Linked DNA regions of Homo sapiens: all the other regions are linked to region 2. Evidence: promoter capture Hi-C in 16 types of primary human blood cells and fetal thymus (Javierre and others, 2016). All regions are on one chromosome and are shown on one strand. Each heading gives the region's core, a stretch centred on a gene start or on the middle of the fragment in contact. The rest is flanking DNA. Distances are from core to core; before and after follow the strand shown. Region 1 overlaps STK33 (serine/threonine kinase 33). Region 2 holds the start of RIC3 (RIC3 acetylcholine receptor chaperone). Region 3 overlaps STK33 (serine/threonine kinase 33). Region 4 overlaps STK33 (serine/threonine kinase 33). Region 5 overlaps STK33 (serine/threonine kinase 33).

Region 1 (5,048 bases), core at 1,133-3,632, 350 kb before region 2:
CCGCCAAGCCAGGCACGGGATATAATCTCCTGGTATGCCATTTGCTAAGGTCATTTGGAAAAGTGCACTATTAGGGTGGGAGTGCCCCGATTTTCCAGGTACCATCTATCACGGCTTCCCTTTGCCAGGAAAGGGAATTCCCCCGCCCCTTGCACTTCCCGGGTGAGGTGATGCCCCATCCTGCTCCGTGGGCTGCACCCTCTGTCTGACAAGCCCCAGTGAGATGAACCCAGTACCTCAGTTGGAAATGCAGAAATCACCCATCTTCTTTGTCGCTCACGCTGGGAGCTGCAGACTGGAGCTGTGCCTATTCGGCCATCTAGGAATCTGCCCCCAGTTTCATTCTTTTATATGTGGATATCCAGTTTTCCCAGTGCCATTTGTTGAAGAGACTGTTCTTTCTCCATTGTGTATTCTTAGCATCTTTGTTGAAGGTCAGTTGACTATATATGCATGGGTTTATTTCTGGGATCTCTATTCTGTTCCATTAGTCAATATGTTTATCTTTATGGCAGTATTATATTCTTGATTACTGTAGCTTTGTAATATATTTCCAAATCAGGAAGTGTGATGCTTCTGGCTTTGTTCTTTCTTAAGATTGCTTTAGCAATTTGTGGTCTTTTGTGGTTGCATGTGAATTTTAGGATTGCTTTCTTTTTGTAAAAAATGCTGTTGGGATATTGGTAAGGATTGCGTTTAATCTGTAGATTGCTTTGGGCAGTGTGGGCATTTTGACAATATTAATTATTCCAATCCATGAACATAGGATGTCTTTCTTGCCCCAGATCTTATAAAGCTTTCAGTTTTACGCCTTTGAGTGTGATGTTAACTATGGGCTTTTCATATATGGTCTTTATTACGTTGGGATTGTTTTCTTCTATTCCTGGTTTGTTGAGAGTTTTTTTGTTTTTTATCATGAAAAAGTGTTGAATTTTATCCAAATGCTTCTCTGCATCTATTGAGACAAAGATGTGATTTTATTTTCAATTCTGTTAATATGGTGTATCACATTGATTGGTTTTCATGTGTTGAACTATCCTTGCATCTCAGAGATAAGTCTTACTTGGTCATGGTTTGTGATCCTTTTAATGTGCTGTTGAATTCAGTTTGCTAGTGTTTTGTTGAGAATTTTTACATCTGTATTCATCAGAGATATTGTCATGTAGTTTTCCTTTTTCGTGGTATCTTTATCTGGCTTTGGTATCGGGCTAATGCAGCTCTTATAAAATGAATTTGGAATTCACCAGTGAAGTCTATAATCCTGGGCTTTTCATTGTTGGGAGGTTTTTGATTAATGATTCAATTGCCATACTAGTTATAGATCTGTTTAGACTTTCTGTTTCTTGAATTTATCTTGGTAGGTTCTATGTTTCTAAGAATTTTTCTGTTTCTTCTAGGTTATCCAGTTTGTTGGCGTATAATTGTTCGTAGTAGTCTCTTATGATTCTTTTTATTTCTGTAGCATGAGCTGTAATATCTCTTCTTTCATTTCTGATTTTATTTGAGTATTCTCTTTTTTTCTTAGTATAGCTAAGAGTTTGTCAATTTTGTTTATTCCATATGTCTCTTGTATTCTTTTCAATATTTTGTATTTTCTCCTTGATTTAATCTGGATGCATTTTAATTGTTCATTTTTCTGACTTCTCTTCCAGTTCAGCTGAGTTTAATCTGCTATTATGACCATCCTTTGAGTTTCTAATTTTTGCAATTGCATTTTTCAGGTCTTTAATGTCCTTTTGTTCATTTTTTGTGTTTTCTCATTTATTATAATTTTCTTGTCTGTATTTCTTTGATAGTTAGAGTCTCTATCTGATAACTTTAATGTTTGGAGCCTCAGTTGGTGAGTTTATATTCCTGGTTTTATTCATGTTTGCTTGTCTAGTCATGTGGCTGTTTTAAAAAAATTAAATTGTTTGCCAGACATTATATTTGAAACATTGTTTGCAGAGATAATCTGAGGTCCAGGATGGTGTCATCAACATTCAGAGAAGGATTATGTTTGTTCCTGCTAGCGCCTGTGGGTATAACCAGTCCAGGATCACGTCAACTCAATTTTAGAGAATGAGATGATTTGATGCCTATTGCTGTAGGTTGGAAGTCCTTCAGAGTTCTACCTCAATGTAATAAGGCTCCTGAGGTACTCAACCTTGGTGGACTTTAGACTGTATTTCTTATCCGCATGATCCCTGGAGGCTATCAGTAACATCCCACTCAGTCTATCTGTTGTTTCCTCAGGAATTGGCAAGCATCTCCAAATAGAATCTATAAATTAGTTTTAGTTTAATTTTTTACAGCTCAGATTTTTTTCCCCCATAGAGTGGTTTTATTCACGATGGCTAAGTTTCCAGGCTAACCCACAAAGGTTTAATCTGTTATTGTGTTAAAATGAAATAGAAAATTTGTAGAAAATGTGTTAATAATAATTATAGTCATTTATCAAAAAATAGAAGTTACCATAAATTTGGAAGCAACCTAAGTGTCTGTCAACACATGAATGGATAAAGAAAATGTGACACATATATACAATGGAGTACTATTCAGCCATATAGAAGAATGAGATCCTGTCATTTGCAACAACATAGTTAGAACCTGAAATCATTATGTTAAGTGAAATAAGCCAGGCACAGAAAGACAGACTTAGTATGTTCTCACTTATTTCTGGGAGCTAAAATACTAAGACAAGTAAACTCATGGAGATAGAGGGTAGAAGGATGGTTACCAGAGCTGGAAAGCGTAGTGGTGTGGGGTGGGGTGGGGAAGTGGGGGTGGTTAATTGGTACAAAAAATAGAATGAATAAGAACTCGTATTTGATAGCACTGCAGGGTGACAGTAGTCAATAATCATGTAATTGTACATTTAAAAATAACTAAAAGAGTATAATTGAATTGTTTATAACACAAAGGATAAATGTTTGAGGTGATGGATACCCCATTTATCCTGATGTGGTTATTACACATTGCATGCCTGCATCAAAATATCTCATGTATCCCATAAATATATACACCTACTATATACCCCCAAAAATTAAAAAAAAAGTTACCGTGATTGAAGTAATGTTTTAAAGTCTTGAGTACTTTTGATTTAAAAAAGCAGCCTCAATTTCAGGGGGATGAAAAAGTTGCAAGGATTGTGAGGGGATGGTTTGGATCTACGAGCAGTGTAGAGGTGGATAGCATGATTCTATATGGACTGTAATTTTTACAATCAGACTTATAGTTCTGTTTTTGGTTGATACAGTAATATCAGTAGCACTATAGACAAAACCAGCATTCATGAATAGTGCCTTATTTACACTGCAAATGAAACATATAGAGAGGGAGAGCTTCTTGAGGTATGGGTCAGCATTTGAAAGCAAGGTGGTAGGAACGGGCTACACACAAGCATAAGGGATTCTATTAGGTGGAATTAGCAGTATTGTGATGAGGAAAAAGAAGTGAGATGTTAGGTGAGCAGGGACAAAACCAGCAGGTTCTTGATTTCCTTGATGAGCAGAAGCAAGCTGTAGGGTGGTTAGCTCCACACGCTCTCCATGATGGCACAGGACTCCTTGCTTGCTTTAGTAAATAGTTTTGACTAAGTGGCAAAAAAGTGATGGTATACATTAGCAACTTATATGCATCATTATTCATAAGAGTGCCGCTTATAACCAAAGAATCAATTGTCATTTGTAGAATGAAGGAATATATAAATAGGAATTTCATAATTTGTTTAATTTTTTCTCTATTTGGGCTACAATAGTAAGTCCTTGAGAAATCTAATGTGAAAAGCAACTCAGTGCTAAACCTAGGGGCGCTAAATATGCTAAATATAATGGGAAGTTATAAGGCACAATAGGAAGAAAGAAGAGCAGGGAACTAGGTAATTGTGTACCTGAGGAAGGCCAAGGTCAAAATTTGATCAGAGTGAAAGTAGTTTGTCACTTCCCTAGCAAAGTCATGCTGACTCTATGAGATGGGGAACAAGCTTGTGCAAGAAGAAATCTGAGTCAGCACAGTACAGGCGAGAACCTAAGAAGGACAGTACAGTAAGGTGAAAGAACTAGGCTTTTAGTATTTTATGTATTAGACTTAAAAATAAAAAATATAAGCTTAAGAAGCTCATAAGAAATGAGCTTACAATAAAATTCTGAACATTTTGACCTCCTGCCTCCACAAACACTCTTGCCTTAGGACCATAGCTGTTACAGGAATGCTTTTCCTTCCAGCTTCTGCCAATTTTAAGTGAAATCCCTTTATGGACTCTTCATTTTTTACCTTGCTGGAGATCATCTCTCCCTTCTTTGAGCCAGTAGCACTTTGTATACTTCGTTTATCTGTGTCACATTTTATGTTAGATTGTATTTTTTAGAGACTCTGGTTGATATTTTTTTTGTATATCTACCCTCTATTTCCACAAGACCAAGAACGAGATCTTATATAAATTAGGTGCCCAATAAATACAAACTATGAAAAAAAGAAATTGTATATCATTATGTAAATTTTTGTCAGTTATAGAGAAAAGCATAAGTAGCAAGGAAAACTTAGTCACTAGAAATAAAGGAGAATTAATCTATAGATTATTGACCCAACAGAAAACTACTGTAAAATTCATTAGTCTGTTTTATCTATGAGCATAATCTACTTAAAGAAGATCTACCCTTTGATCTGGAGCTTTATTTGTAATAATAGTTGGCGCAGAAGGAATCATTTGCACATTTAATCCTTTATAAGTAGCTTTCTTTGATCATTTTGTAGAATTTCCATTTTTATATCTTAGAGTTATGACATATTAAGGGCAATACTTTAAAATATTACTGTTTTGATAGATGCAAAAATCTTCAACAAAATACTAGCTAACGGAATCAAACAGCATACCAAAAAGATAATACATCAGATCAAGTGGGTTTCATACTAGGGATGCAGGGATGGTTTAATACAAGTCAGTAAATGTGATATATCACATAAACAGAATTAAAAACAAAAATCATATCGTCATTTGAATAGACACAGCAAAAGCATTTGATAAAATCCAGCATCTCTTTATGATAAAAACTCTCAACAAGATTGGC
Region 2 (5,189 bases), core at 1,290-3,789:
CATTCCAGACCCCTCTGTATTTCTTAGAGACCACATCCCATTAGTCACCTCCTCCCTAAGCTGCATCTATAGTCCAGGAGTCCAGAGGTTTTCTGACTAAACCTCCCCAGACAGTAAACCTGGTAGCTAAGAGGGCAAATTCTTGAGTAAGCATGCCTGTGTTCAAATCATAGCATCCAGTTTATACTGTGTAATTGTTGGCAAGTAAATTATGTTTTCTGGGGCTCCATTTTCTTACCTGTGAAATGGGTATATAATAATATTGCTTACCTCTTGAAGTTATTGGGAGGAATAATTATGATATGTAAGATGCCTAAAACATAATTAGTACTCTAACTTTTAGTGATGTTAATAACATCAATGATAATAATGCCCGAGTGAAGCCAGCAGTGGCACCCATCTGGCTGCATGAATCAAGGAAAGAGATTCAGAAGATATCCATTGCTTTAAAAAAATCAAACAATTTTTTTTTAGAGACAGGGTCTCACTCTGTCACCCTGGCTGGAGTGGGTGCCCCTACTGGCTTCATTCAGGCATTATTATCATCTTATATATCATAATTAATTGTGGTTTCACACAATCATAGCTCACTGCAGCCTCAAACTCTTGGGCTCAAGTGATCTTCCCACCTCAGCTTCCTGAGTAGTTGGGACTACAGGTGCACACCACCATGCCTGGTTAATTTTTTACATTTTTTTGGTAGAGATTAGGGCTCTCCCTATGTTGCCCAGGCTGGCCTTGAACTCTTGGCCTCAAGCCATCCTCCAGCCTTGGCCTCCCAAAGCCCTGGGATTATAGGTGTGAGCCACTGTGCCCAGTCTCAACTGCTTTTTAATCAGATTTCCAGCCAATCCTTCATTCAGACCCACTCTGCACCCTTGGCTTTAAAGGAACCCAGTACCTCCAATTCTTAAGAGCATGGGTTCTGAGGGGCAAATTAGTTCACTCCTTACAGGCTTTCAGTCCACAGGCATTTAACTTTTTATGCTCTACACCTGCACTGTCTACTGTGGGCGCCAACGAGCCACACTATCGTGCTGATAAAATTTGAAATATTTTTGCTATCTTGGTTTAAAATATTATTAAAATAAATTTTACTTATTTTTACTTTTTAAATGTGGCTACTGGAAAAATTTAAATTACATATGTGGCTGGTATTATGTGTCTATTGGACAGTGTTGTGTGCGTCTTACAAAATTGACATTTCTCATCTGCTGTCATGTTTTCTATCATTGCATTTAGTCTTGTAGTTTATATACTTTATTTCTTTATTTTCCTTTTTGGGCACTGTCCCAGGAAAGCAAAGATAAATGCATATGTTACATCTGTCATGTTTAACTGGAAGTTCTACCTAAGCTTTTCACAATGTAGCTCCTGCTTATATTTGTGCACTTCGTGTCCTGTCACTACTCTATGGCCCTGCCAAAATGAATTACCAATAGCTTTCTGAACACACCAGGAAGCTTCCAGATTTGCCTTTATTTTTTTGGCCTCCTTTTTCCGGAATACCTTTCTAACCCCTCCCACCTGTCTGCCTATAAGTTACTCATTTTTCAACAGCTAACTCAATTTCACCTTCTCAAAGGGGCTTTTCTTGACTTTTCCTCGTACCAGTTGAGAAGACTGCTCGGGGATCCAGAATATTTCCTGCATTTTTTTTGTTTGGATAATTATCTGTCCTACAAAGGGAATCCATTTTATTCATCAGACCCTGTAGTGCCAAGTTGAGGGTCTAATACATAGTAAAAACTAAAATAATGTTAAATGAACGAATGAAGAGAGTAACAAAGAACGGTGGGATTGTAGAGAAAGGAGAGGCTGACTGAAAACGTTTCGAGAGAGCAGTGTTTTTAAGCTGTTCTTCAGAGAAGTTTTTGACAACTGGAGATGGTGTCAGGAATTTTCCAGGCAGTGGGAACAGGACAAGCAAAGCTTCCCTGAAGACAAGCAATATGCTAAAGAAATAGCAAATCATCCAGTTTGGAAGGAGCATTGGTAAGACCAGATCATGCAGGGCGTTGAGGTTATAGAAAGGAGTTTAACTATTGTTCTGAAGATAATGGAGAGTTAAAAGGTTTAAGCTGGAGAGAAAGAGAATTAGTCTTGTGTTTTAGCATTATCACCTGTGGCTGCAGACGGATAATGAATGCGAGGGGCATGAGTGGAAGCTGGAAGACAGCGAGATCATGGAGATGAGGAGAAACTGGATGTTGTGATCTACGGGTGGGTGGGGGGCAGTGGTGGTAAGTGGGGATAGAGATCCGGGCACGACCGCCGGATGTGTAGGCGGTAGAATGCACAGGACTCAGTAAAAGATGAACATGGGGAGTGAGGGAGGAGTTTTTAGTTAGTATGAACGGGAAGGCGAGGGTACCATTTACAGCGACGGGTAACCACGCGGGAGGAGCAGGTCAACTCCCGACAGTGGAGGTGAAGATGCGTGCGCCTCGCGCACCTTGTCCCTCGCGCGACGCCGTCCGCGCCGCCCGCGGTTCGGTCGGGAGCGGCAGCCCGTGCTCCGGTTCCGGTTCCGGTTCCGGCTGGCGTCTGCACCTGCGACCACCGTGAGCAGTCATGGCGTACTCCACAGTGCAGAGAGTCGCTCTGGCTTCTGGGCTTGTCCTGGCTCTGTCGCTGCTGCTGCCCAAGGCCTTCCTGTCCCGCGGGAAGCGGCAGGAGCCGCCGCCGACACCTGAAGGTAAGAGCAGGCCAGCTCCCTCTGAGCTTCCCGGCGCCGAAGAGTACGGAGAACGCTGCTTGAGGGAGGGGTGACTCTGAGAGTCTGCAGCCTTCACCGAAATATCCACCAAACTGACTGGAGAGGGCGGGCGAGACGGCGTTGAAGGGCCAATGCCCACGGTTCCGTTGTTATCAGCGGGTGGCGGCCCAGATGGTTCTGCTGCTGGAAGGGTCAGGAACGTATGCATGCAGGTCTGTGCATCCTCTAGGTGGCCTTGCGTACTCCCGTTTAGGCGCAGTCCCTTCTCTCTTACCCCGCTGGCTTAACTCATCTCGTCACCATTTGTTCACGTGCTTTGAGTCAAGGGTTCCCAGTTGGGTTTCCCTCTTTAGGTTTTCCGTGTACTTTCTGACGCGCCGCTTGGTACGAAATCAAGGCAAATGGAATTGGTACAGCAAACCTTAAGTCGTTATGTTTTTTCAACTTGGTGCTGGGCGCTCACTGCTTCAGGCTCTTCTTGTGCCTTTAAAAATATATCTTGAAGATTTTAATAACCCCAGTTTCAGTTACTGAGGTGGTTATGAACAAATTATTACGTTCCCCTTATTGAAACAGTATTTATCTGTTAATTCTTCGTTGTTGGCATGATGTATGTGGTGTTTAAAAATTCATCCTCTTAGCTGCACTGGGGCCTTTTACAGAATGAGTGTAAAGGCACGGTGCTGAAGGCTGGGAGAAGGAACCAGAACAGTTTTCTATAGGTCATGAAGTTCTACTGGTAACTTTCTCCTGTAAATTATCCTTGTAATATCTTTGAGACATGATTTTACGGTGTCTGAACACTTCCAGTAATGTTTAAACTGTTGATTGCTGGACAGCTCCTTTTGAACTGTAATCCACTTCCGTCTGCTTTATGCACATTGACTGTAGTTCCATTCTCTTGAGCATCATACACACTATAAATGCAAAGCACCAAGCTTTAGGGGTGGAGGGCAGGTTGAACACATAATTCTGTTTACAGAATTTGCCTGATAATCTTTATGCTTGTAAGACTATCCACTTGGGACGGACTTCTAAAACATCTTTGCGTATTTGTTCTTTTTTTTTCCTTTCTGTCTTATTGCAATAATCCCAAAGATTTTTACCTGCTTTGTCTAATGATATTGTCTACTTTGAAGAAGAGTCAATTCATGATGATCCTGAACAGTGAAGATTCTTCGAAAACTTTTTTTTTTTTTTTTTTACTTTCCATTATGGTGAATTATCTTGAACAAGTACTATTGACTGTGAGTGGGAGACACTCTTCTGAACGTTGTAGAAAATGTAGAGTGGAGATTAGACATGGGTTGTTCCCTTGAGAACTCAAGTGTTGGTATTCAGTGTTCTCATGTTAGGATCTTTGTACCTTCAGTTCTCTTTATTCCTGAAGTGCTGTGCTTTTCCCTCAGTGCCCTTCTCATCATTCAAATTTCTGCTCAAATGAAACCTCCTCAGAGAGACTTCCCCTGATGACACTAACTAAAATAACTCTTTTCTCCCATCATTCTCTATTTTATCATGTTTTATATTCTTCATGATAGGCATCACTATATGATATGGAATATTCTTAAGTGTTTACTTGTTTGTTTTTTTGTCTTCACCTTCTAGAATGTAAGTTTGCAAGGGTAGGGACTTTGTCTTGTTTACCACTGTTTCTTCAGTACCTGGCATATAATGGGCAGTCAATAAATACTTTAAGATTATTAAGCTACCAATACTGTAAATTCTGTTTTTGACAAGGAGAAGCTACTGAAGTAGTATAACCTAGGAAAAAACTTACCTTGAATGGTACATTCCAGTAACTGAAACTTGCAGCAAAAAATCTTAACCATTTTGGGGTTACATACACCATTGAGAATCTTATAAAAGCTATGTATTTTCTTTCTTTCTCTCTCCTTCCTCCCTCTGTCCCTCCCTCCCTCCTTTCCTCTCTTCCTGGCCCCCTTTCCCTTTCTCTTTCCCTTTCCCTGGGTCTCACTCTGTCACCCAGGCTGGAGTGCAGAGTCATGATCACAGCTCACTGCAGCCTCTACTTCTAGGGCTCAACTGATCCTCCCACCTCAGCCTCCCAAGTAACTGGGACTACAGGCACATGCCACCATGCCTGGCTAATTAAAAAAAATTTTTTTTGTTTTTGGTTGAGATGGGGGTCTCATTGTATTGTCCAGGCTGGTGTCGAACTCGTGGGTTCAAGTGATCCTTCTGCCTCAGCCTTCCAAAGTGCTGGGATTACAGGCTTGAGCAACTGCACTCAGCCTAAAACTGTATGTTCTCTCTAGAAAAAGGTACATACTCTTATTGTACTCAGAATTTCAGTATCAATTCAGAGAATTCTCAGAACCCAGAAATCCCTGCTTTGAAGAAAGGAATAACCCTGAGTATTTGAAAATTCTTAAAAATACATGTTGTTATGTCTTCCATTTTTGCCCATTGATGTGCATGAAACAAGCACAGTTCCCTTTCCACATGA
Region 3 (5,286 bases), core at 849-3,348, 390 kb before region 2:
AATATTCTCAAACATTCAAGGACCTAGTCCCTGAAGAAATGCCTCATGAGTAAAATTAATCATCTAAGTGATAAATAAAAAGAACTTGGGAATGAAGAAGCAGAGATAGGAAGGGGTTGATAGGGCATATGGAATCTATTTAAAAATAGACCAAGTAAAGTCTGAATAACTGCGTTGTATGAAAACAGAAGAAAATGTAAAGGCTCTAAAATTAATGTTGAATAAAGGATTTATGTAACAGATATAAAGAGGGGAAGGGAGAATAGGTAGAGGTTTGTAAAAGAGTTTGAACTCCCATTTATCTTCGTGGAGAGAGAGTCAGTAGATAACAGCCTGTAGTTGATGAATCTGCTAGTCTCAGTTGAAATCTAGGCACTGCCACATAGCAGCTATGCATTCTCAGATGAGTTTAATTCTCATAAGTAGCTGTAGAATCTTCATCTGTGTCTTGGAGGTAATGATACTACTAACCTACTAGGGTTGTTGTGAAGATTAAATACAATAATGTGTGTCAGGTACTTAGAACAGTGCCTGGCCTGAAGTAAGCATTCAGTAAAAATTACCAATTGTTTATTATTATTTTAAGGCAAAAACATGGGCAGATAATTTTATAATCTTGGGGCAGAGAAGGCCTTTCTAAGCATAACTCTCAACCTAGTGACCACAAAAGAAAAGATTAATTATTTGATTTCATAAAAACTAAAAGCTTTTACATGACAAAATCACCATGATAAGAATCAATGAACAAATACCCAAGTGGGGGAGAATAATTGCAATATGTTTGACAGAAGGAGGATTGATATCATTAATATTTAGGGATCACTGATAAGTCAACAAGAAAAAGATGAGAAAAAATCAGTATGAACAGATATTTTACAGAAAAAAAATTTGAAAAAATACTTAGCCTCATTTATAATTAAGGAGGTAGAAATTAAAATAAGATGCTATTTTTCATTTATCAAATTGAGAAAGATGAAAAAGTTCAAAAATATCTAATGACAGAATGTGGTAAAATGCACTCTCATATCCTTTCTTGAGGGCAGTCTGACATTTATCAAAATAATAAATGCTCACACATTTATCTCTGCAGTGCTACTGCTAAGAGTGTATTCTACAAATATATTCATCTTAGTATACAAAGATATATGTAAAAGGTTATTGCATATAGCATCATTTGTAATAGAAACCATTTGGAAGCAATTTACTTGACTATTGATATGGACTTGTTAAATAATTTAGAATGCTTATATATATTGGAATATTATATAGCCATTAAAACAAAAGAGGTGTAAATATATATATGGATAATGAAAAAATGGTTAGGCTATAATATTTAGAAAAAGGGTAAGTTACTGAGAATAGGTATAGTATGAGCTTATTTACAACCATATGTGATTTATACTTAGGCTGTGTATATGCAAAGAAAATTTCTAGAATGTTACACAGAACCATTGGAAATGATTATCTGTGAGATGGAGAATGGAGATGCTCTGGACTCTTATTTTCATTTTATACCCTCTGGACTCTTTCAGTTTTTATTACAGCAATTATTTTCTGATTTTATAGTAATTAAAAGCAAACAAAAATATTTTAACCGGTAGTGACTATGTTGCTTTTGAAAATAGAATTTAATATTCTGGGAATAAAATTATGGGGTAGAATAGTAAAACAAATCAAGTAGGTTCAACTAATGTTTGTTCAACAAAGATTTAGGAAGCTCCTACTTTGCATGACGTACTAAACTGAGCTTAGCTTGTGGAACAGATAATACTTGATAAATGCTAAAAATAGCGGTTCAGACATTTCTCCTAGAGGTTATATTTTCTTAATTAAAACCAGATGAAATGAAGTCTGTTAGTGAACACTGTTTTTATTACATGATTGTCATGCCACCAACCTAGAAACTAGCATGAGGGGCAGGAAAAAATGCTAAGGTTTGTGAACTTGGCTATGCCATTTTGTTGGCTTTGTGCTTTGGTTGTCATAATATGGCTGCTGAAGGTGTTGGGGATATGTGAGAAGGTATATTAGTGATAATGCTCATGATGACAGGAGAAGATCCTGTATTCCTGAGCAAAAACTAGATTTGATCAAATGCTGTATTTACCAGTGCTATTTATGTTTTGTTGCTTTAGAGGCAGCAATTTTATGAAGGAGGTTGTAGTTTCATGGAGGCAAGTGGACCTCTACATTTTCTAGGGTTTGGCCATGTGAATTATACCAATCTATTTAGAAATTGTGGCTGTTTTCTATTAGAGAGTCTGTGATTCTTCAAAATCTTGTGATTTCATTGGGCTCAAGACATTTTGAGGAATGGGAAATGAGTGCAGTATCCAGTTGGCATTAGCTTTTTGAATTTGAATACCCGCACAGCCAGTTGTGCTATATTAACACTTGTTTTGAAAACGTGAATTTGCTGCAATGCCATTGATATATTAGGAAGCGATTTGAGCATAAGTGAATTTCATGTTTGTGTTATCCATGATTTTTGTCAGCAAGAAACACCAGGTGAACACAGAATACAGCACATAGTTGAACCGAGCCCAGCAGGAACACACAAAACGGACACATGTACATACCTGGAATATCTACCAGCTACCTCAGTTCACCACAAGTTATGAGCCACACCCACCCGCATCTGGTGTCACACCTTTCCTTCTGATTTCAGATAACCTTCTTTCTGGCACCCTTGATTAATTCAAAAACTACAGTCTTTCAAATGCCTATATCTATAAGTAAACTTCAGGTTTTTTTCAAGGTAAGGTGCCATATATTTATGTTTCCTAACCATTTAACATATACAAAAATGCTATGATTTTTTATTAGGTTTCGTGTGTGTGTGTGTGTGTGTGTGTGTGTATCACTGACAAAGATTTGGAGTTTTGTGTCCCTAGCTACATTTCCCCCGTAAGTCCTTGTTTGTGCCATTTTTGCATAGTGTAGTGATTTTTAGGAATGTAGGTATTTCCTTATAGTGAAACTGACTATATCTCTTTGAACAAATTTATGCTGGTCTTTTTTCCTTTTCATTTTAAGTTTATGTAGTGCATCTGATTTGCAATAGTTAAACAGCTCCCTGCAAACAAATGAATGATGGAAATCTTATTTTTCCTTTTTTTGCAGGTAATCCATTGTACCAAGTTAGCTCAACATTTCTGATTTTAAACCAACTTCTCTAGTTCCTTGTTGGCAGTTGGTTAGGGCTTCATGTGTCCTAGTGAATTGAGTGATTTTTCTAAGTTAAATTTTTGTGAAGGGCTGCATCTTGAGATAAGGTCCCAAATGCCTCATGTTGAACTCCTTTGGACTTCTCTAGACTTCTGTGACTTAAGGTTCATTACATTGCTAATCGTCCATGTTTATTATTATATGAAGAAAGCCTTGCACCAAGTTTGTGGCATGAAGTAAGTACATAGGTATAAACAGCATGTGATTGAAAACCAAGTATTTATTATTTGGAAGTGAATTACTTTTTTTTTTTCAAAGCTTAGTTATCTTTTTTGAGGGTTTTTTTCTACTCCAGTGATGATATAGGTTGAAGTAAAAATCTTTCATTGAATGCTGAAGTTCCTTTTTGAGGTTCTAACATGATATACATGAATAAAGGAGTTACAAGTCTATAATTGCCTTCTTTACATCTGACTTATAATGCTTTCTTGTGTCCAGGTTCCGTTCCTTATTCTAGTTCACTTAGTAGTTGCACTAGGAATTATTTCTGTAAAAATATGAGAGATAGGAATGTATATTTTGACTTGAGTATTTGCTTTAAGGTTTTCCTTGTGTAAGTACAGGTTTTTATTCTGATTTTGGCACGTAAGAATTCAGCTTTAAGTTGAAATTTAAGACTTCCTGACTTCCTTTTTCCCCTCCTTTTTTCCTTCCTTCCTTCCTTCCTTCCATCCTTCTTTCCTCCCTCCCTCCTTGCCTCCCTCTTTCTTTTCTCCTCCTCCTCCCTCTCCTCTTCTCTCCTCCCCTCCCCTCCCCTCCCCTCCCCTCCCCTTCCCTTCCCCACAAGGTCCCCCTCTGTTGCCTACGGTGGAGTGCAGTGGCACAATCAAGGCTCACTGCCGCCTTGACCTCCCAGGCTCCAGTGATCCTCCTACCTCAGCCTCCCAAGTAGCTGGGACCACAGGCATGCACCATGATGGCCAGCTAATTTGTTTATTTTTTATAGAGATGAGGTCTCACTATGTTGCCCAGGCTGGTCTTGAACCCCTGGGCTCAAGTGATCCTCCTGCTTTGGCCTCCCAAAGTGTTGGGATTACAGGCATGAGACACCATGCCTGGTTTAAGGTTTCTTTTAATTTTCTCTTTGAAAGAAAGTATCTTAGTCAATAGCAAGTGCATCTAGCAAAGAGGGGCATTACTATGGTGACCCTAAAATCTGTTCTTCTCTTCTTCATTCATTCATTCTTCATAGAACAAATATTTGTTAGGTGCCTAATATGTGTTACATCATTTTAGGCTCTGGAGAATATAATGATGAGCAAAAATACAGTCTTTCCCCTCACAGTCTAGTGGGGGAAATAGACTTTAATTAATTAGTGACCAAAATATATACTTATAAACTGTGATAAGTGCTATGAAGAAAGTGTACAAGTTCCTTTGAAAGAGAAAAACAAGGGGACCCAATTTGGATAAGTGATTTAAAAAAAGCCTTTCTGAAGAAGTGACATTTAAACTGAAGTCTACAGGATAAGGAGTTTACTGGAAGGGAAAGGGGGTGGAAGGATTTCCAGGCAGAGGCAAGAGGTTTTGTGATATCATTTTATAGTACTTATGACCTTTTTAGATGCTTATATAATTAGGTACTAGTCTATGAGCAAGACAGTTTATAGAGCTGTGTTACTGAAAAGATGCATATAAATTACATTTTTATAAATGAATTCCTGAATTCCTGCAGGCTTACATTATACTCACTGTGCTATATCATCTGCATTTGATTGATGTTCAGTTACTTCAATTACTGCTAGATTGATCTTTCTAAAGCACAACTTTGATGACGCTTTTTTCTGCTCAGAAATCTTTACCAGCTCCCCAATTACCCGATAAAATCCAGACTTCTTAGCCTTATGGTCAGGCCCTCCCCAACTGGCCCTAGTCTCAATATTCTACTTCAACTTTACTCCTATTTCTGAGGTACTCTCTTGGCCAACAGAACTTCTGGATGATCGTGGGTGCTTTCTTATGTGCCCACCTTCACTTACATTGCTTCTCTTGCCTTACAATCTGTTCACCTCCTTCTTAGACTGCCCAAATCCAGGCCCATTTCAGATGTTAACATTT
Region 4 (5,313 bases), core at 1,449-3,948, 370 kb before region 2:
TCTACATCTATGAGTTCAGTTGTTTTGATTTTTAGATACCACAGATAAATGAGAACCTGTGATGTTTGTCTTTCTGTGCCTGGTTTATTTCACTTAACATCATAATCTCCAGTTCCATCCATGTTGTTACAAATTACAGAACCACAATGAGTATTTTCTAAAGAGTATTTAAATTTTACTTATTTGGTTTTGACTTGTAAATTTGAAATACGTTGGTTTATCAACAAATGTGGCCAAATAAAATAATAATGTTTTAATTCCCATAGTTAAAAATATATTTTTGAGCTCTTAATCACTGAAGACATTTGAAATGTTTTCACCTGCTGATTTAAGTGACAATTAAATGGTGAATATGCGTCCCTCTTTTAGATTCCTTGGAAAACCATATCATAGGGCAAGATCCTTAATGGACATGTGATTTTTCATCTCTTTGGTCATATTTGTCACCCTAGGGGAATCTAATGAATGAGTAGATACATATTTGGAGAACAAAACAGAGTCTGCATTGGGCGGCATCAAACTGATGGAGATAATAAGAAGCTATAAAAAGTGAAAACCAGGCCGGGTGCAGTGGCTCATGTCTGTAGTCCCAGCACTTTGGGAGGCTGAGGCGTGTGGATTGCTTGAGCCCAGGAGTTCAAGACCAGCCTGGGCAACATGGCGAAACCCCGTTTCTACAAAAAAATACAATAATTAGCTGGGTGTGGTGGTGTGTACCTGTAGTCTCAGCTACTCAGGAGACTAAGTGGGGAGGATCTCTTGAGCCTGGGGAGGCAGAGGTTGCAGCCGAGATCGTGCCACTGCACTCCAGCCTGGGTGACAGAGTGTCTTAAAAAAAAAGTGCAAACTAAATCTTTTCATTTATTAAAATTCATTAATTCATTCAGCAAGTATTTTTGCATCATCCAAGCATATTTGATCACGTGCTTGGCATTCTTTTAGGTCAGTATTTCTCAGCGTTGGCCCTATTGACATTTTGGAGTGGGTAATTCTTTCTTGTGGTGCAGCCATATGCATTTTGGATGTTTTGCAGCATCCTTGGTTTCTTACCCTCTAGATACCAGTAGCACTCCCCTAGTTGTGACAACGAAAGATGTTCCCAGACATTGCCAGCCATCCCCCGGGAGGCAAAATCACTTCCGTTGAGAACCACTGTTTTAGATGACAAACATTTTAAAAGCAATTTTTTTGAAATGTATTTTGTGTTGTTTCCCTATTTCAGATTTGTACATGTTCCATGTGATTTTTGTCTGTCAGTATTTCCTGGTCAGTGCCCTATCTGAAAATTGACTTAGGTTTCGTAATGACATGTGGAACTAGCCACATTTATCGTAGAAATATTGAAATAAAACCCTTATATTTTAAAACTAATAGTTGATTTAATCGTGATTCTGTAACATTTATGACATCCTGAATCAAAGAACCTACTATTTCTTGATCTTTTGAAAAGTACTTTGTACCTATGAGCAAATTCTTACAAAGAAACCTTCTAACGCTTATTTTTCCTCCTTTAAAAATGATCCTATTCATCTTTTGTTTTAAAGGCTCTGTAGCTTATTGGTACTGCATAAAAATTCCATTATTATAGAGACTGTTCTCTTTGCTTCTCTGCTGCATCTTCTTCTGAAGTTATGAGAGATGTGAAACATAGTCTGAAAATTCATTCAAAGCTTTAAAACTTATTATATCCAGGAGAGACAGATTTAAGATTGCTGAGGTTTCTGGTTGAAGTACTTCAAGCAGAAATCCATACTCCATTAGACTCTCTAACACTGTGACCTTAATTTTTCAGATATTTTGCTCTTTAAATTGAAAGTAGTATTTTAATACAATTTAAGTCTTTTGAAGGGGCTTGTAGTACCACAGACAGAAGTTGTGAAACATTTGAACAAATGGAAAGTAAAATAGCAACGAATTTAGGACTATATCAAAGTTTTAAATTTCAAAATATATAGTGATATAAAGATATGTATGGAACATACTTTATGCACTGGAGTTGGGGGAAAAGCTATTTAGTAAGGAGTTGTTCATACTGTACTTAAACAGAATTTCTTTCATTGGATATTTTTCTTGGCATTGCCTAAAGAGTTTCTGATTAGGAGTGGTTGTTAAGTTCTCTGAAGTTAGAAAATTTACTTTGTATAAAACCGTGGTCTGGGTGAAATGAAAGTCTACCTGGACAATAGCTACTGAGTTATCTTGCTTCAACAGATAAAGCAGGAAATGTAAAACTGTAAAACTGTATTATAGTACTGAATCACGAAACTGAGAACTATTTTTTAAAAAACCTCTTTGGAAAAGGAGAGATGAAAAGCCTCTTGTTCTTTTATTAGTAAATTAGGTCAGTTTTTAAATAATATGTTCATTGAAATATACACATTTCTCAAGTAATGATATAATTTAATTCAATTTATATTTTAAAGGCATAACATCTGAACTGAATTCTTTAGAGGTCCTTAATTGCTTCATCTATTTTCCATTGTAAAATGTTGTTTCAAACCTAAATTTAAAAAAATGTGTTATGTATATTTGAGGTTTACAGCATAATGTTATGAGATATATATATATATATATAGAGAGAGAGAGAGAGAGAGAGAGAGAGATAGTAAGATGGGTAGTATAGTGAAGCCGATTCACATATCTCATCTCACATAATTACTTTTTCATGACAAGAGCAACCAAAATTTAGTTATTTAACTAAAATGTCTAATATAATACAATTTGATTAACTTTAGTCCTCATGTTGTGTATTATCTCTAACTTGTTCACCCTACATATCTGGTATTTTGTATCCTTTGATCTGCATCTCTTTGTTTCCTCTCCCGCCCCCTGCCCATCCATGGTAGCTACTGTTTTGTGCTCTGTGTATTTGAACTCTTTTCTTTTTAAATATTCCATGTATAAGTGAGAGCCTGTGATGTTTTTCTTTCTGTGTCTGTCTTTTTTCACTTAGCATAATATCTGCTAGGTTTGTTTTGTAGCAAATGGCAGGATCTACTTCCTTTTTAAGGTTGAATAATATTCCTGTGTGTATATGCGTGTGTGTATACACACCACTGTTTCTTTTTAAAATTTTATTTGTCTTTTTTTTAAAGACTGGGTCTTGCTCTGTCACCCAGGCTAGAGTGCAGTGGTATGATCATAGCTCATTCAAACTCCTGGACTTAGGGGATCCTCCCACCTCAGCCTCCCAAGAAACTAGAACTACAAGTACACCCCGCCATACCTGGATAATTACATTTTTTTTTTTTTTGTAGAGATGGGTTATCACTATGTTGTTTGCCTGGTCTCAAACTTCTAGCCTCAAACGATCCTCCCACCTTGGCTTCTCAAACCACTGAGATTCCAGGCATGAGCTACCACACCTGGCCAACAGTTTCTTTATCCAGTCATTCACTGACAGACATTTAGGTTTTTTCATATCTTGGCTATTGTGAATAATGCGGTAATCAACATGGGAGTGCATATATATTTATGAGGTGAGCAAAAGGTCTTCTCTTTTGGGTATACACCCAGAAGAGGGATTGCTGGGTTGTATGATAGTTCTATTTTTAATTTTTTCGGGAACCTCCATACTGTTTTCCATAATGGCTGTACCAGTCTATATTCCCACCAACAGTGCGCTAAGGATTTCAGGCCTAAATTGATCATATAATCTTTCTTTCAGTTTGCGGCTCACTGAAGGGTGATACATCAAATATTATTTATTTATCTATAGAAGCTTAGCATTTACATTAGCTCCTATTTACGTACTACAGTTATGAGTTAGCTATTAAGGGTGTAATGTAACCTCACTGAGTTCCTTTATGTATATTCATGATAGTTAAATGCCAAATAAATCATATGTCTATCTTAATGCCAAGTAATTATTGCATCAGTTGCTAAGGGGCATTCTTTATGATGAAGAAGCAATTTCAGGTAGATTCTTCGAATCTTTTGCTATCCTGCTGCAATCCGAAACTATTGGGTTGTTTACTCTTATTTATTGGTGTTGGTATTTTAGGGGTGCTCCATTGTTTCAGATCAAAAGTGAACAGATTCCTACCTGTTTGTAGGACATAGCCTGTTTTTGCTGAGACTTTGGTGGTGTCGCTAGGTCAAGTATTTCATCTTCATATTGGCCAGCTGGCTTGCTCCCTTGCCTTGTTCACTGATACACTGATTCTTAAACGATCACTCATGGCCTCATCAGACCAGGGCAAGAGAGATTCATCACCTCACTGAGGGAACATTTTGAGATGCAGCACCGTGTCAGAGATTGCCTTTAAGCCCCTAGAGAAACGGGCTTGATAGCAATGTAAGTCTCTATGATAATGGGCTAGGTGAGAATCTTAATTTTTACTTCGTTTTAAATTTTTGTTTTTTAACAAAGTTATCTACAATTTTGTTTTTTCAGAAAGTCATTATTGTTTTTTTTTCTCCTTCAGAATACCTCTTCTGTAAACTTTACAGGTTGTGTAATAGTAAAATCCTTCTGGCTGGAGCTGATACTTCTTGGATAGGTTACATATCAAGGGACAAAGAGATTCTGGACAAATCTTAAATGTACAAAACCCAGTTTATATTATCAGTAATATTTGAAAACATTTCTCTTATTTTTAGACATCCTTCTTTTGTCAGAAAGGTTAATTGGCCAGATAGCAGTGGTTCATTGGCCTGTAATTATCATCTGAGACAAGCGAGTTCCGGACCCTTGACTTTTAGGAAGTCCTCCTGTTAGAAGATCATAGCTCCATATTCTTTCCCTTTTTGACATTTTAAAAAAGTAGCTGACATCCTGTTTATCGTTCATTCTTTAGAGACATGCATATGTGTGTGTGTTCATTCATTCAACAAGCATTCGTTGAGCACTAGACACATGTAGGAAAGAACACATCTTGTTAGGTTAGGTCGCTCTGCCAAATTCACGTAAAATTGCCTATCTTCTTGAGCCTTTTGTTTTTCTAAAAATATGCCTACTACTGGCTTTTTTCTTTAGTTAGTGGCAACAAAGTAATCTTTTATAATACCTATGATGATGACTAAAATGACAAGATTCACCCTAAAATTTCCCTGTATAGGAAAACAATGACATGTTTACACAAATAAAGCTACAGTAATACATTACTGGGGGCATGATGGCATACTGATTTCAACAGCATGGACTTTGGAGGCAGACGGTTTGGATTCATATTCTAGCTTTACCATTTACTAGTTGTGTGACTGCAGGCAAATTACTTAACCTCAGTTTCCTCATTTGTAAAATTCAGATAATTGTAGTGCCTACTTCATAGAGTTGTTGTAAGTATTAAATGAGTTAATATGTATAAGATA
Region 5 (5,179 bases), core at 404-2,903, 410 kb before region 2:
GTAGTTGCTATGTTGCACCTTGATTTTTTGCCTAAAAATATCTTAGATATTGTTGCAGTTGAAGAAAACCCTCTTCATTTTTTAAATTGCTGCATAGTATTCCACTGAATGGATGTACCACAACTTACTTAAATAGTTCCCTATTGAAGGGTATTTGAATGTTTTCCAGTATTTTGCTATTACAAGTGATGCTGTAAAAAGTAACTTTTAATTTATGTTATTTTGTACATGTGTAAATTCACTGTATGTGTTAAACAAGAAACTAGGAGATTACTGTCGGCATGGTGAAATTCACTAATACAGAAGGTTTTTCTTCCCAGTACAAATGTGTGATAAATCATAAATAAGTAAGTGCTTTCCTATTAGCAGAGCTCCATATCAGGCACTGTAATCGTATATATATGTATGGGTTGGTAGATTTCAAAATGAGAAAAGAGAAGATTATGGCATAGTTGACTGACTTGTAGTGAGAGATGTCTGCATATGAGCAGACATTTACTCACCAGAGTGAAACTTTCATTCCTAAAGAAAAAATGACTCACTGCTGCATGGAAGAACTTCCCTGGAGAGGCACTGTTGCATTTGACCTTTATTAGGGTTATGGTATGATTCTTGCTCAGGAAAGTTACCATATAAAAATGCTTACAATGGCTCTGTTACCATTGAGTATATCCAGAAAATGGGCAAAAGGAGGTTTTAAATATTTATGTATAAATTGAAGAGAGCCAAAGTAAGCTTGTGTATAAAGAACTGCAGAGCAGTAAGATAGGATAGAGTATAAATGGCATGTATACTTACACCTTCATAGCTTCTGCATTGGTAGAATATAAGGTGAATATGAAAATAAATGTTAATATTACACAGTACTTTGCATTTTTCCTGTTACTGAGTAAGTAATTACTATGTCCAGGAGTGATTCTAGAGTTTTTAAAAAGAATATGTATAGTAAAGAAAAATAATATATTTATATACCCAGATAAACAAGCTCAAGGAAGGTGACATGGCAGAATCAAAAAACATATCTAAGATTATTCTGCTTATAGCATGTAGCATAAATACTAAATAATAAGCAAAGTGTATGAAAAATCATCTAGGCTTTTGAAATTTGAGTTAAGACTTAGTTTTGTTTGTTCTCCTAATATTCTGATTTATTAATGAATTCTTGAAATATCTTTGATTTTTCCTTCTGCTATTTTTTGTTTCTTAGAATCCATAGTTAATGAACTCTGGAGTACAGTCTAAAGTCACTATGATTATTGAAGATTTTAAAATCTTTTATCCAGAAATATAGCTTTTTAGCTTATTTGTATTGTGTTTGAGACATAATTGAATGTAAAAGAGTGATACTGCCATATTTTGATAGTTGTATCATGTTAGATACCATAGTACCCTCTGCTAACTATTTACTAGACACATTTCAGGGCTCCTATCCTCCCAAATTTTCTTCTAAATGAATCTTCCTGGCAGGACATGGTGACTCATGCCTGTAGTCCCAGCACGTTGGGAGGCTAAGACAGGAGGATCACTTATAGCATATAATTTATTTATTGTATGGAACATTAAATCCCGGGGAAGTAGAGCAATTCTTTCATGTCTTATTCAAGGTTTTTTAAAGTCATCCAGTAGTCTTTTGTGAATTGATGAAACTCTGGAACATCTGTCACTTGCTTCATTTTATAGCATTGTTGTTAGGAGTTTGGCATGTTAGCAGATTTCTGGTTTTGAAGCCTGTCTCTGTCATTTATTAGCTGTGTGGCCTTGTGCAAATTACCGAACCTCTCTGTGTCTTGTTTCATGATCTGTAAAGTGGGAATAGTAGTAGAACTTATCTTATGGAGTTGTTACAAGAATTAAGTGAGACAATATTCCCAAAGTACTTAAGCCAGTTACTGGCACAAAAAAGGTATTTAATAAATGTTAGCTATTATTATTCAGTATGAGAAAGTTAATATCTGTTATATTCACACATTAAGCATTTGAAGTGATGAAATTTGTGGCATATATTTATAGCCAGATAGATAGTAATACATTATAAAAATTTTATCTACAATCTGAAAATAGATTTCAGGTTTATTTATTTCTTCTTATTACATTAGATGGTTTCATGAACATCAAATAGTTTGGAAAGTTCCAAAAGGAAATGAAGTCTTAAAGGCCTAAGAACACACTGACTTGAATGTTGGTTGTAATTCGTGTTTTGAATGAGGGAGGTCACCTTGGAACCTGAACTGTTCTTTCTTGTCCATGCAAAGTATGATCACTAATAACGCATTTCCCAGACATGGGTGCAGTGGCGGTGGTGAGAGAGTCATGAGGATTAGGAAAGTTCTGCTGTTTGTTTTCAACTCCCCATTCAGTCCTCTTTTTAGAAGTCTCTCTTCATTTTCCCCATCTCAGATGCCCAGTTTCTGTTTGCTGCCCTCTGGCACAGCATCCTGTAAACATTTTCTCTACCATTTACAAATGTCGGTTGTTGATTCGCTAACTAGATTGAGTTAGTCTTCTTAATATCTCCCTCTTAATATCCCTTGGTGAGGAATCTGTAGTCTTTAGAATACAGTATAAGCTTGTTAAGACTTGTAAGGTACTCCATGATTTAGTCTCTCCCAGTCTTCTCAGCCTGCATCTATTGAGATGATCATATAGTTTTTCTTTTTTAGTCTGTTACTATGGTAAGTTAGATTGATTTTCAAACGTTAACCCAACCATACATTTTTAGGATGAACCCTACTTGGTCGTGATCTGTTATCCTCTTTTTTATTGTGGTGATATATACATATATATGAAATAAAATTTGCCATTGCAGCCATTTTAAGTATACAATTCAGTGGCATTAGCTGGTTATCCACTACTTCCAAAAATTTTCAACACCCCAAACAGAAACTCTATAGCATTAAGCACCCCATTCTTCTCTCTTCCCCCAGCCCCTGATAACCTCTAATCTACTGTCTGTCTCCACGAATTTGCCTATTTTAGCTATTTCATATAAATAGAATTATACAATATTTGTCATTTTGTGTCTGACTTATTTCATTGAGCATAGTGTTTTCATGGTTCATCCATGTTGTATCAGAGCTTGTTCCCTTTTGTGGCTGGATAATAGTCCCTTGTGTCCGTATACCACAGTTTGTTTATCTGTTCATCTGTTGATGGACACTTGGGTTGTTTGTGTCTATTGGCTATTGTAAATAATGCTGCAGTGAGTGACTGTTGCTGTACAGGTATCTGTTTGAGGCCCTGCTTTCAGTTCCTTTGCATGTATACCTAGGAGTAGAATTGCTGGTCATGTGGTAATTTTATGTTTAGCTCTTTGCGAAGCCACCAAACTGTTTTTCACAGCAGCTACACCATTTTAAATTCCCAGCAGCAATGTATGAGGGTTCCAGTTTTTCCACATCCTCACCAACACTTGTCATTTTCACAAAAAATTAAAGCAATTTCATTATCCTTTCCCTTCCCCCTTTTTTTGAGACAGGGTCTTGCTCCCTTGCCAGACTGGAGTGCAGTTGCGCAATTATAGTTCAGTGTAGCTTCAAACTCCTGGGCTCAAGTGATCCTCCTGCCTCAGCCTCCTTTGTAGCTGGGACTACAGGTGCATGCCACCAGACTTGGCTATTTTTTTTTTTTCCTTTTTTTGTAGAGATGGGGCCTCATTATGTTGCTCAGGCTGGTCTTGAACTCCTGGCTTCAGGCAATTCTCCTGGCCTGGCACCCCAAAGTGTTGGGATTACAGGCATGAGCCACCATGCCTAGCCTCATTATCCTTTTATATATTAGAGGATTTAGTTTGCTAACATTTTCTTAAGAATTTTTGCTTCTAGGTTCATGAAGGATATTGGTCTGTAGTTATATGTACTTGCAGTGTCTTTGTTTGGTTTTGGTAACATGGTAATGTTATTGGGAAATGTTCCTTTTTTATTTTCTGGATGAATTTGTATAGAATTGGTATTATTTCTTCTTTAAATGTTTGATAGAATTCACTAGCAAGGCTATATGGGTCTAGAGTTTTCTTGGTTGAAAAGTTTTAACTAAGAATTTAATTTCTTTACTATTTATAGTTATTTTAAAAAGAAAAAGTATTTATGGCTATTCTGATTATCTTTTTTCTTTCTTTTAACTTTTAATTTGAAATAATTACAGATTTACAAAATGTTTCAAATAAATACACAGGGAGACTCTGAGCACGCTTCAACCATCCTCCCTCAATATTAATATCTTGCATAACTGTAGTATAGTATCATACTAGGAATCAAGGTTGACACAGTCCACAAAGCTTATTCAGACCTCTACAGTTGTATATTTACTCATTTGTGTATGCGTGTATATAGTTGTATGCAATTTTATGCCTGAAGCTCATATTAGCTCCATCTCTAAGTGTCCACTTCCTCTGGGGTGAGTGGGGATAGGGAGGGAGGGAGAGGGGCCACTGAGGGACTGGCAACACTCCAGCATGTGGTGTTGGGGTCCATGGGCAACTTCAAGGCAGGTCTTGTGTAACCACGAACTTTGTGTAACCATCACTGTAATCAAGATACAGAACTGCATCATCACCCTGAGTCTCCCTTGTCTACTCCTTCCTTTATACTCATACCTACCCCTCTCCTATCTGTAACCCCTGGAAACAGATTCATTTCTATAATTTTGTTATTTCAAGAATGTTATATAAATGGAATCATACAGTATGTAACCTTTTGAGATTGGCTTTTTTCACTCAGCATAATTCCCTTGAGGTTCATCAAAGTCTGTTGCATATTCCTTTTTATTGCTAAGTAATAGTCCTTAGTATGGATGTGCTACAGTTTGTTTAACCATTCACCTGCTGAAGGACATTTGAATAGTTTCCAGTTTTTGACGGTTACTGATAAAGCTGCTATGAACGTTTGTGTACAAGTTTCTGTGTGAACATAAGTTATCATTTCTTTGGGATAAATGCCCAAGAGTACAACGACTGGGTCATGTAATAAGTCAATTTTAGTTTTAAAATAAACTGCCAAGCTAATTTCCAGAGTGGCTGTACTATTGTACATGCCCACCAACAGTGTAGGAGTGATCTGTTTTCTCCATATCATCACCAGCATTTGGTATTGCTACTATTTTTTATTTTAGCCTTTCTGATTGATGATACTTCATTGCGATATTAATTCACATTTCCCCAAAGCCTAATGATGTTGGTCATCTT

The links. The method cuts DNA at HindIII sites, captures the fragments that hold promoters and counts their contacts. A CHiCAGO score of 5 or more calls a contact.
Region 1: a fragment that was not itself captured here is called in contact with the fragment with the promoter of RIC3 in region 2 in 1 of 17 cell types (M2 macrophages); the score reaches 5.6 in M2 macrophages.
Region 3: a fragment that was not itself captured here is called in contact with the fragment with the promoter of RIC3 in region 2 in 6 of 17 cell types (M2 macrophages, M0 macrophages, M1 macrophages and 3 more); the score reaches 10.6 in M2 macrophages.
Region 4: a fragment that was not itself captured here is called in contact with the fragment with the promoter of RIC3 in region 2 in 4 of 17 cell types (M0 macrophages, M2 macrophages, endothelial precursors and 1 more); the score reaches 6.6 in M0 macrophages.
Region 5: a fragment that was not itself captured here is called in contact with the fragment with the promoter of RIC3 in region 2 in 7 of 17 cell types (monocytes, naive B cells, M2 macrophages and 4 more); the score reaches 9.5 in monocytes.

The regions. Positions count from the first base shown.
Region 1 is chr11:8,511,658-8,516,705 of GRCh38, reverse strand. All of the region lies in intron 1 of STK33 (serine/threonine kinase 33), which reads left to right. Among named protein-coding and RNA genes, the nearest start is that of STK33, 80 kb to the left of the region's middle. The HindIII fragment of the contact is 3,168 bases long and covers 799-3,966 here.
Region 2 is chr11:8,166,375-8,171,563 of GRCh38, reverse strand. RIC3 (RIC3 acetylcholine receptor chaperone) reads left to right here and starts at 2,539. Exons shown (of 6, transcript NM_001206671.4): 1 at 2,539-2,698. The coding sequence starts at 2,575. RIC3-DT (RIC3 divergent transcript) reads right to left here and starts at 2,494. Exons shown (of 5, transcript NR_187234.1): 1 at 2,375-2,494; 2 at 1,576-1,679. The HindIII fragment of the contact is 1,725 bases long and covers 1,935-3,659 here.
Region 3 is chr11:8,555,972-8,561,257 of GRCh38, reverse strand. The region is part of intron 1 of STK33 (serine/threonine kinase 33); the gene reads left to right. Among named protein-coding and RNA genes, the nearest start is that of STK33, 36 kb to the left of the region's middle. The HindIII fragment of the contact is 2,780 bases long and covers 709-3,488 here.
Region 4 is chr11:8,538,257-8,543,569 of GRCh38, reverse strand. All of the region lies in intron 1 of STK33 (serine/threonine kinase 33), which reads left to right. Among named protein-coding and RNA genes, the nearest start is that of STK33, 53 kb to the left of the region's middle. The HindIII fragment of the contact is 2,051 bases long and covers 1,673-3,723 here.
Region 5 is chr11:8,573,333-8,578,511 of GRCh38, reverse strand. All of the region lies in intron 1 of STK33 (serine/threonine kinase 33), which reads left to right. Among named protein-coding and RNA genes, the nearest start is that of STK33, 18 kb to the left of the region's middle. The HindIII fragment of the contact is 1,831 bases long and covers 738-2,568 here.